3 separate regions of the Homo sapiens genome follow, and regions 1 and 3 are each linked to region 2. The links are contacts of gene promoters, found by promoter capture Hi-C in human tissues and cell types (Jung and others, 2019). All regions are on one chromosome and are shown on one strand. The core of a region is centred on a gene start or on the middle of the fragment in contact, and the rest is flanking DNA. Distances in the headings are between cores, read along the strand shown.

What was found. Contacts are between HindIII fragments. The study calls those that stand out against the background at their distance.
Region 1: a fragment that was not itself captured here is called in contact with the fragment with the promoter of TRIML1 in region 2 in 4 of the 25 tissues and cell types used here (H1 embryonic stem cells, heart left ventricle, neural progenitor cells and 1 more).
Region 3: a contact is called between a fragment that was not itself captured here and the fragment with the promoter of TRIML1 in region 2, in 3 of the 25 tissues and cell types used here (adrenal gland, heart left ventricle and psoas muscle).

The regions. Positions count from the first base shown.
Region 1 is chr4:188,078,082-188,080,781 of GRCh38, reverse strand. No RefSeq gene overlaps it. Among named protein-coding and RNA genes, the nearest start is that of TRIML2, 30 kb to the left of the region's middle. The HindIII fragment of the contact is 3,588 bases long and covers 1-2,700 here.
Region 2 is chr4:188,138,183-188,140,882 of GRCh38, reverse strand. TRIML1 (tripartite motif family like 1) reads right to left here and starts at 1,442. Exons shown (of 6, transcript NM_178556.5): 1 at 917-1,442; 2 at 260-355. The coding sequence starts at 1,324. The HindIII fragment of the contact is 25,840 bases long and covers 1-2,700 here.
Region 3 is chr4:188,185,115-188,187,814 of GRCh38, reverse strand. No RefSeq gene overlaps it. Among named protein-coding and RNA genes, the nearest start is that of LINC02434, 26 kb to the right of the region's middle. The HindIII fragment of the contact is 3,842 bases long and covers 1-2,700 here.

The DNA.
Region 1 (2,700 bases), core at 46-2,545, 60 kb after region 2:
CAAAGACTGTCAGCTCTACCATCCATATATGTCCCTCAGCAAACACTCGCCATCCTCCCTTTGACCACACTAGTTGAGGCTGTGATCTTTCATCTGGACCGCAGTGCTAGGCTCCAGCTGGCTGCCACCACACAGGCCTTTCTTGATCTGTCCTCCACAAAGAGCGCCCTCCCTGAACATTCTCTCCAATCCCCACTCATTCTCTTACCTCTTACCCTACATTATTTTCTTTGTAGCATTAATCATGACCTGATTTAACATTATGTATTTAACTTCCTGTCTGGAATGGAAACCCCATGATGGCAAAGGCGTTAAATGAATGAACAAGAAACCCAGAAAGTGTTTATTAAACAATCCCTGTATGTCGGGTATTTGCCTTACCTGAAGGAACAAAACAAAGATCTCAGCATTAATGAACAGATGAGGAAGCTTGATTTTGAAGTTTCACAGGACAATTTTATCTAAAAAACTCTACAAATTAGCTTTTGTTTGTTTTTGTTTTTTGTTTTGTCGAACTGATGGCTACTTAATCAAGCAGCTTCTCTAGTATGCCTATAATATTTCATCATGACCCAGCAACCATTAAGTTTTGCCAAGGATGTCTCCTGAGTACAGGAAAGCAAAGAGGTGAAGGAATTAGCAAAGTGATGGTGAATGGGAAAATTCCCAGGACGACAGCATCAGTTGGCCCTAATTAGAACAAAAGGTGGAAGATTCACAGAAGGGTACCTTGAAGGAAAAAATAAATAGAATTGATTATTTCCTAGCCGTTTGGCTATGTCAAGAAAAGCTTTATAGCTCCATAGGACAGTATAAGGGATGAATCTGTGTTTGGTACACTAGGAAAAAAAAACTAAATATATATAGAGAGAACTGTTAACTCCATAAAAAACAAAGGTGTTGATGGCTTAATAAAATGTTGCTTTGACTATATTGGAATGAGGTGGCAGGGAAGTTATCTGTAGCAAGTAAAAGGTAAAAGATAATCCTTCTTTCTTTCTCTTTTCTTTCTTTTTTTTTTTCTTTTCTTTCGACAGGGTCTCACCCTGTTACCCAGGCTGGAGTGCAGTGGCACAGTCATTCTGCCCATTCTGCAGCCTTGAATTCCTGGACTCAAGGGATTCTTCTACCACAGCTTCCCAAGTAGCGTGGACTACAGGCTTGCACCGCCACGCCCAGCTAATTGTTTACCTTTTTGTAGAGATGGTGTCTTGCTCTGTTGCCCAGGCTGGTCTCAAACTTCTGGACTCAAGCAGTCCTCCACCTTGGCTTCCCAAAGTGCTGGGATTACAGGTGTGAGTCACTGCAACTGGCCAATCTTTCCAATTTAGATTTCTATTTCCAATTTCTATTTCTAAGGAAATAGAAATAGAATGCCTCATTCTGTTTCTTATAGAATATACATGATATTCCTTAACTTAAATGAAAGATGAGGGAATATCATGCATATTCTATAAGAAAGAACTGAGAGTTGGACATGACTGTATCTAGATAGCCGGAATGGGGGAGAAGAGAGGATTTTTTTTTTTTAATTATAAACCTTCGAGCACTTTTTGATCTTTGGTACTAAAATATATGTATTATTTTGGTGAATTAAATTAAATTCAAAACAATGGATAATGGATAAATGATGAATTGTGTTTCTATTAAAAGCGAAGAAAATTTTAGTGTCAGAGGTTACTAGGAATGTCAGATTATTTCAATGACAATTATAATATAAGGGATTTTTTTTTTTTTTGAGACAGAGTTTTGCTCGCTCTTGTCACCCAGGCTGGAGTGCAGTGGTGTGATCTTGGCTCACTGCAACCTCTGCCTCCCAGGTTCAAGCAGTTCTCCTGCCTCAGCCTCCCGAGTAGCTGGGATTACAGGTGCCTGCCACCACATCCAGCTAATTTTTGTATTTTTAGTAGAGACGGGGTTTCACCTTGTTGGCCAGGCTGGTCTCAAACTCCTGACCTCAGGTGAACTGCCCATCTCGGCCGCCCAAAGTGCTGAGATTATAGGTGTGAGCCACCGCAACCAGCCAATATAAGGGGTTTTTTCAAAGGTATATTGACTAAGGTGTTATGAAGATTTTTAGCTCTCAGGAGAAAATCTATATACTAACAGAGAAAGGCCCCCCAAAAAAGTAATATAATAAGGAAAACCTTACTAATTGAACAAGGAAAATAAGGAGATGCTAGCCAATAAGAGACAAGTCATTGAAGACCTGGGAAATTAACAGACAAGCTTGAATTCTGGGCAAATAAAGTGAAAATTTGGTGAAAATAAATCAATAGATTATTGCAATTGCTCCAAGTTTGCAGAAGTTGGCATACTTATGATAAAGTTAATAAAGTGAAAACAGTCTAATATAGAAAATTATTCTTGTAATAACAAAACTTAAAAAAAAGAGAAAGAAAGAAAGAATGACATGGAGCTATTCCAACTGGCCATGGTCCAGAGGCCGGTAATCAGCCACTGGTTATTTAGTGAGTGCTTTTGTCCTCCAGCAATACTCAAATGTTTCCCTAAACTTGTGTCTAACTAAACATTTGGCTTCCTAGGCTAATGGTTTCCTGGATTAATAGCTGTACAAAATTGTGAGCAATTGTTTGAATTGTGAATGGATGGAAATTGTTTTGAATACTTAAAATTAATGGACTACAGTCATATGCTGCCTAATGACGGCTCCAGTCAACTGCGGACATATACGACGGT
Region 2 (2,700 bases), core at 193-2,692:
TCTACCAGAGCCATCATAGAGGAAGCCACAGCGTTGTCTAGTTATGCAAAGGAGGCTCCTAGAGGGGGCGAATTGCAGCTGAGCCTTGAGACTCCCACGAGGACGCTCAGAAGAAGGCAGCCCAATGCAAGGAAACTGCATATTTTAGAGGTGAGACTGGAAAAATTTGTCTTTTTTTTTTCCTGATATTTCACTAAATTTCCCTTTAGTCCCCCTTATGGGGTCATATACAAGCAGCAAAAGTCAGACAGACACCGACCTGGCACAGTTTCACTCTCTCCTTCTCATGGGTTAGTACAGCCTGAGCTTCCTTTCTCCTTACACGCAAAAGATTCAGGATTTCCTGGAGTTTCTCCTGCAATAGAAACAAACCCTTTCTGGCAAATGAGCAGAGTCCCAGGTCATGAAGGGGCTTTGAAGACCAGTAACTGCGCAGTCCTAGGCCTCTAAAACAAAGGGCAGGCTGGGTGCGGCGCCTCACGCCTGTAATCCCAGCACTTTGGGAGGCCGAGGCAGGCGGATCACCTGAGGTCAGGAGTTCAAGACCAGCCTGGCCAACATGGTGAAACCCCGTCTCTATTAAAAATACAAAAAATTAGCCGGGCGTGGTGGTGGGTGACTGTAGTCCCAGCTACTGGGGAGGCTGAGGCAGGAGAATGGCGTGAACCTGGGAGGCGGAGGTTGCAGTGACTGAGATCGCACTGCTGCACTCCAGCCTGGGCAACAGAGCAAAACTCTGTCTCAAAAACAAAAAAAGGGAAAAAAAAGGGTGTAAACTGGACCCACGCCAGTTTGTGATGTGGTGCTCAGATGGGCCCTCGTGACTGTCCCCCACAGAGGACGTTAGGAAACGTCAGGAAAGCTAACGGAGTTAGCTGCGATGAGTCGTGGGGTTCATGCTGAGCAGCTGTCTTACTCTGTGATGCTCCTCAGCCTCGCTGGAGAGATGCACTCTGTTTGCACCATGGCTCTGGGCTACGAAGGCGCTTCCACCCTGCTCGTCATCGGAGAGCGCCTTGGCAGTGGTGGGCATCCTCCCGTAGCTGCCCTGCTCATCCTCGCTCTGCAGCACCTGGGACCGGAGCTGCCTGGCGATGCTGGCCAGCCTCCCCAGACGCTCGTTTGACTGGAAATGCGGGCCCTCCAAGGTCCTCCAGCACTCAGGACAAGATAAAGGTGTGTTATGTTCCTCCCAGCTCCTGAGGAGACACACCAGACAAAAGCTGTGCCCACACTCGGTGGTCACTGGGCTGCTGAAATAGTCTAAGCAGATGAAACAGGTGAGTTCCTCCCTGAGGTTCTCCATCAGATCTGCTGTAGACATTTTCTCGAGGCTGGATATGCAGCCAGGTTACACCTCTGTTCTGGGATTAGCAAAGCCCTCACTGCCGTCCTACAGTTTTGAGTAACACGCGGGTGACCTGTTCCTATGTTGTTATGACAAGAAACCCTTATCTCTTCTGTGCCTGATTTCACCAGCTGACATACACTGTCCAACACAAAGCCAATTATGACTTAATGTGGAACTCCTGTATACTGGGCTCCTCACCAACCCCAAACTTTGAGACTTATCTCTGTGAAAAGCACACATGCTAGAGGCTGAGGATTCTGGCTTCTAACAGGATTACCATTTTGAGAACTGGTTATTGTACATAAACAGCACTGTGGAACCATGTGAGCATGTGGGTTTTAGGCTGGAAGCTTGGGTGATTTGGTGTAAACCAGTAAAGAGATTTGAGTTTTGATGATCTCTAATAATATCTGAATTGGAAATTTGGTCCAAATCTTTTGGGAACTCCACTAATAAAACCTAGTTGAGAACTGAGAGAAGAAAACTGTAATACATAGTCCTTTTCTCATTAGCCCCTTTTGTTCTGCTTGACCAAAGCCTAAGCTTTTGTTCCTTTATTGGGTACTGTGTACTTTTATTTAATTTTATTCATCCCAACAAAATGAGAGCTCTTCCACTGAAGTATTCCTTGGTGTTAGGCGCACGATGAATTGCCAGAGCTGTTTATTGATCTTCCCTGCACACCCTAGTACTCACCCATCTGCCATCTTGGAAAGCATCTAAAATGACATTCTAATTGGAAGTTGCCTCAAGAGGCTATCCCACTATGGAGCAGATGGAAAGAATTATATTTTAGTATAAATGTAATTTTGCTCACTTATTTTCACCCATTGAAAATTTCCAAACTAGGCCCCTTCAAATCCCTGATTATCAGTTCTTACTGGACAGAAATGAAGTGTGCAGACATTTTTTCGGACATATGAAAAAGTAAATGCCTAGTGTGGAGACTGTGCACAGTGAACTCCGAGATTGGTAACAAATGCCACAAATTCACTGTGTCCCCTGCTCGGGAGTCAGCTCCTGTCCTGGCCTGCCTTCTGCTCACTGCATGCCAGGAAGTTGCACCTCAAAAGCTCTTCCTCAAAGGCCAGCGAGTTTGACCTTCCCACGAACTCATCACGCCATATTTCTGTCTCCGTCCCCTCACTCTCCAGCTTGGCAGCCTTCCACGAGTCGGGTCCATTACTCAGGCTGTTCCGTTCATTGGTTTCTGACTTTCAAGGCTCCAACTGCTACTTCTTTCCCACTTACCTCCAACAGGATGTTGGATGTTTTCTTATCTTGAACTTTGGGAAAAAGAAGTTTTCTGGCTGAGAATGTTTTTTCCTCCACCTTCCTTTCTCCTAGTC
Region 3 (2,700 bases), core at 82-2,581, 47 kb before region 2:
ATATTCTCCTATGCTTTCTTTGAAAAGCTTTATAGTTTTAGCAATTATGTTTGGATATATAGTCCACCTTGAATTAATTAAGAAAGACCTGGCTGGGGGAGGTGGCTCATACCTGTAATCTCAGCACTTCGGGAGGCCAAGGTGGGTGGGTCACTTGAGGTCAGGAGTTCAAGATCAGCCTGGCCAACATGGTAAAACCCCATCTGTACTAAAAATACAAAAATTAGCCAGGCATGATAGTGGGAGCCTGTAATCCCAGCTACTTGCATGGCTGAGACAGGAGAATTGCTTGAACCTGGGAGAAAGGGGTTGCAATGAGCTGAGATTGCACCAATGTACTCCAGCCTGGGCGACAGAGCAAGACTCCATCTAAAAAAAAAAAAAAACCTAAAATTGTGCAGTATTTCTTTCTCTGAGCAATGTTTTATAGCTATCTGCATAGAGATTTTACACATCATTTTGTTGCCAAAACACCAGGGATTTGGTCTAGGTCCTGTTCTCACTGCACAGAAAGCCAATCAACAAGTATTGCCAAGGAAGAAGTTTTTAATGGGATGCTGCAGCCAAGGAGATGGGAGCTCAGTCTCAAATCCTCTCCCTGACTGACTACAACTAGGGATTTATACAGCAGGAAATAAATATAACAATGTGTAAGAAAACAAGAAGGCATATGATCTGGTGAGTTTCAGTTCTTCGACACTTTTTTTTGAGAGGACTGAAGGTTCTTTCCTGAGGACCTAACTCAGATAAAATGAATACAAGTTTCAAGCTTTAACAGCAGAAGGGTCCGGATCAAGAGGTCAGGAGATAGAGACCATCCTGGCTAACACGGTGAAACCCCGTCTCTACTACAAATACAAAAAATTAGCCGGGCGTTGAGTCCCAGCTACTCGGAGGCTGAGGCAGGAGAATGGCATGAACCTGGGAGGCGGAGGTTGCAGTGAGCCGAGATCACACCACTGCACTTCAGCCTGGGCGACAGAGAGAGACTCCGTCTCAAAAAAAAGAAAAAGAAAGACAGAAGATAAAAAGCTTCTACTCTCTTAGACAATTTCAAGTATACACTGCATCCATATATACAAGGAGGCAGTGAATACTTGAAATTGTCTGAGACAGTAGATCTTAGGTGTCCTAACCACATACACATAATACACACACACACACACACACACACACACACAGAGGTAACTATGTGTGATGATGATTGTTAAATAACTTGACTGTGGTCATTTCACAATGTAAACATATCTCAAATTACCATATTGTATTACTTGAATATATATAATTTTAATTTATCAATTATACCTAAATAAAGCTGGAGGAAAATAATGTATACTGGGAAGGAACAACATCCACACATTAAGTTTATTTTTTTATTTTCTTTTTTTATTTTTGTTTGAGATGGAGTCTCACTTTGTCCCCCAGGCTGGAGTGCAGTGGTGCCACCTCAGCTCACTGCAACCTCAGCCTCCCAAGTTCAAGTGATTCTCCTGCCTCAGCCTCCTGAGTAGCTGGGATTACAGGCACCCACAACCACACCCAGCTAATTTTTGTATTTTTAGTAGAGACAGGGTTTCACCATGTTGGACCAGGCTGCTCTCGAACTCCTGACCTCAGGTGATCCACCCGCTTCAGCCTCCCAAAGTGCTGGGAATATAGGCGTGAGCCACTGCACCTGGCCCACACATTAAGTTTACAAAACAAGACACAGAAGGGGAAACTATGGAATAACAGGACTAGAAAGAGTAGGAGATTTTGTAAATGTTTTTATTATGAAAATATTTGATACACATAAGAGAATGTTTGTGACAGATGTATATTTATATACACACAAACATATACATCTGTAGATAGGATGGATAGATAAGATTAGATAGAAGATAGATAGATAGAGAGATAGATAGATAGACAGACAGACAGACAGATAGCAGATAGAGATAGATTTTCATGAAACAAACACCATTGACCCCTTCACCCACACTAAGACATGGAACGTCACTGTTATCTCTGAAGCTCCTGTTCGCTTCTGTTACTTCATCCCTGGCCCTGGGTTTTCTCCAAGAGTTCCATTCACATACGTGTTGCACAGCTGTTAATACACTGCCTAGTGTGCTTGGCTTTGAATTTATAATACAGTATCATGCTGCATATCTTTCCACAACTTGCTTCCACAATGTATTAACTTTCTGAGTTTCGATCACCCTGACATGTGTAATTCAAGTTTATTCATTTTCACCATTATATAGTGTCCAATTCATGAATAAACCTCAATTTCTTTATCCATTTTCCCACAAATAGACCCAATAGACATTTGGTTACTTGCAAGGTTTTGTTCTTGTCTTTTGCTATTATTAACAATGCTCCTAGAAACATTATTTTGTATGATTCCTTGTGCAAAGGGGTAGACATTTTTCCTACAGCACATACTAGAATTGGGCATACTCACATTCAGTTTACAAGATAATGCCAAATTGATTTTGAAAGTCATTGCACCAATTCACACTCTTAGCAACTGCCCCAGGGACATCCTTGTTCTATATCCTGGTCATATTTACCTATGTATTAGGTGTATCATGAGATTTCATTAAATATTAAATTGCCTTTTACTGATTATTACGAATTGAGAATCTTTTTATATATATCTACTGGCCACTTATATTCCTGTTCTGTAAAGTACTTGTTAGTACCTTTTACAGATTT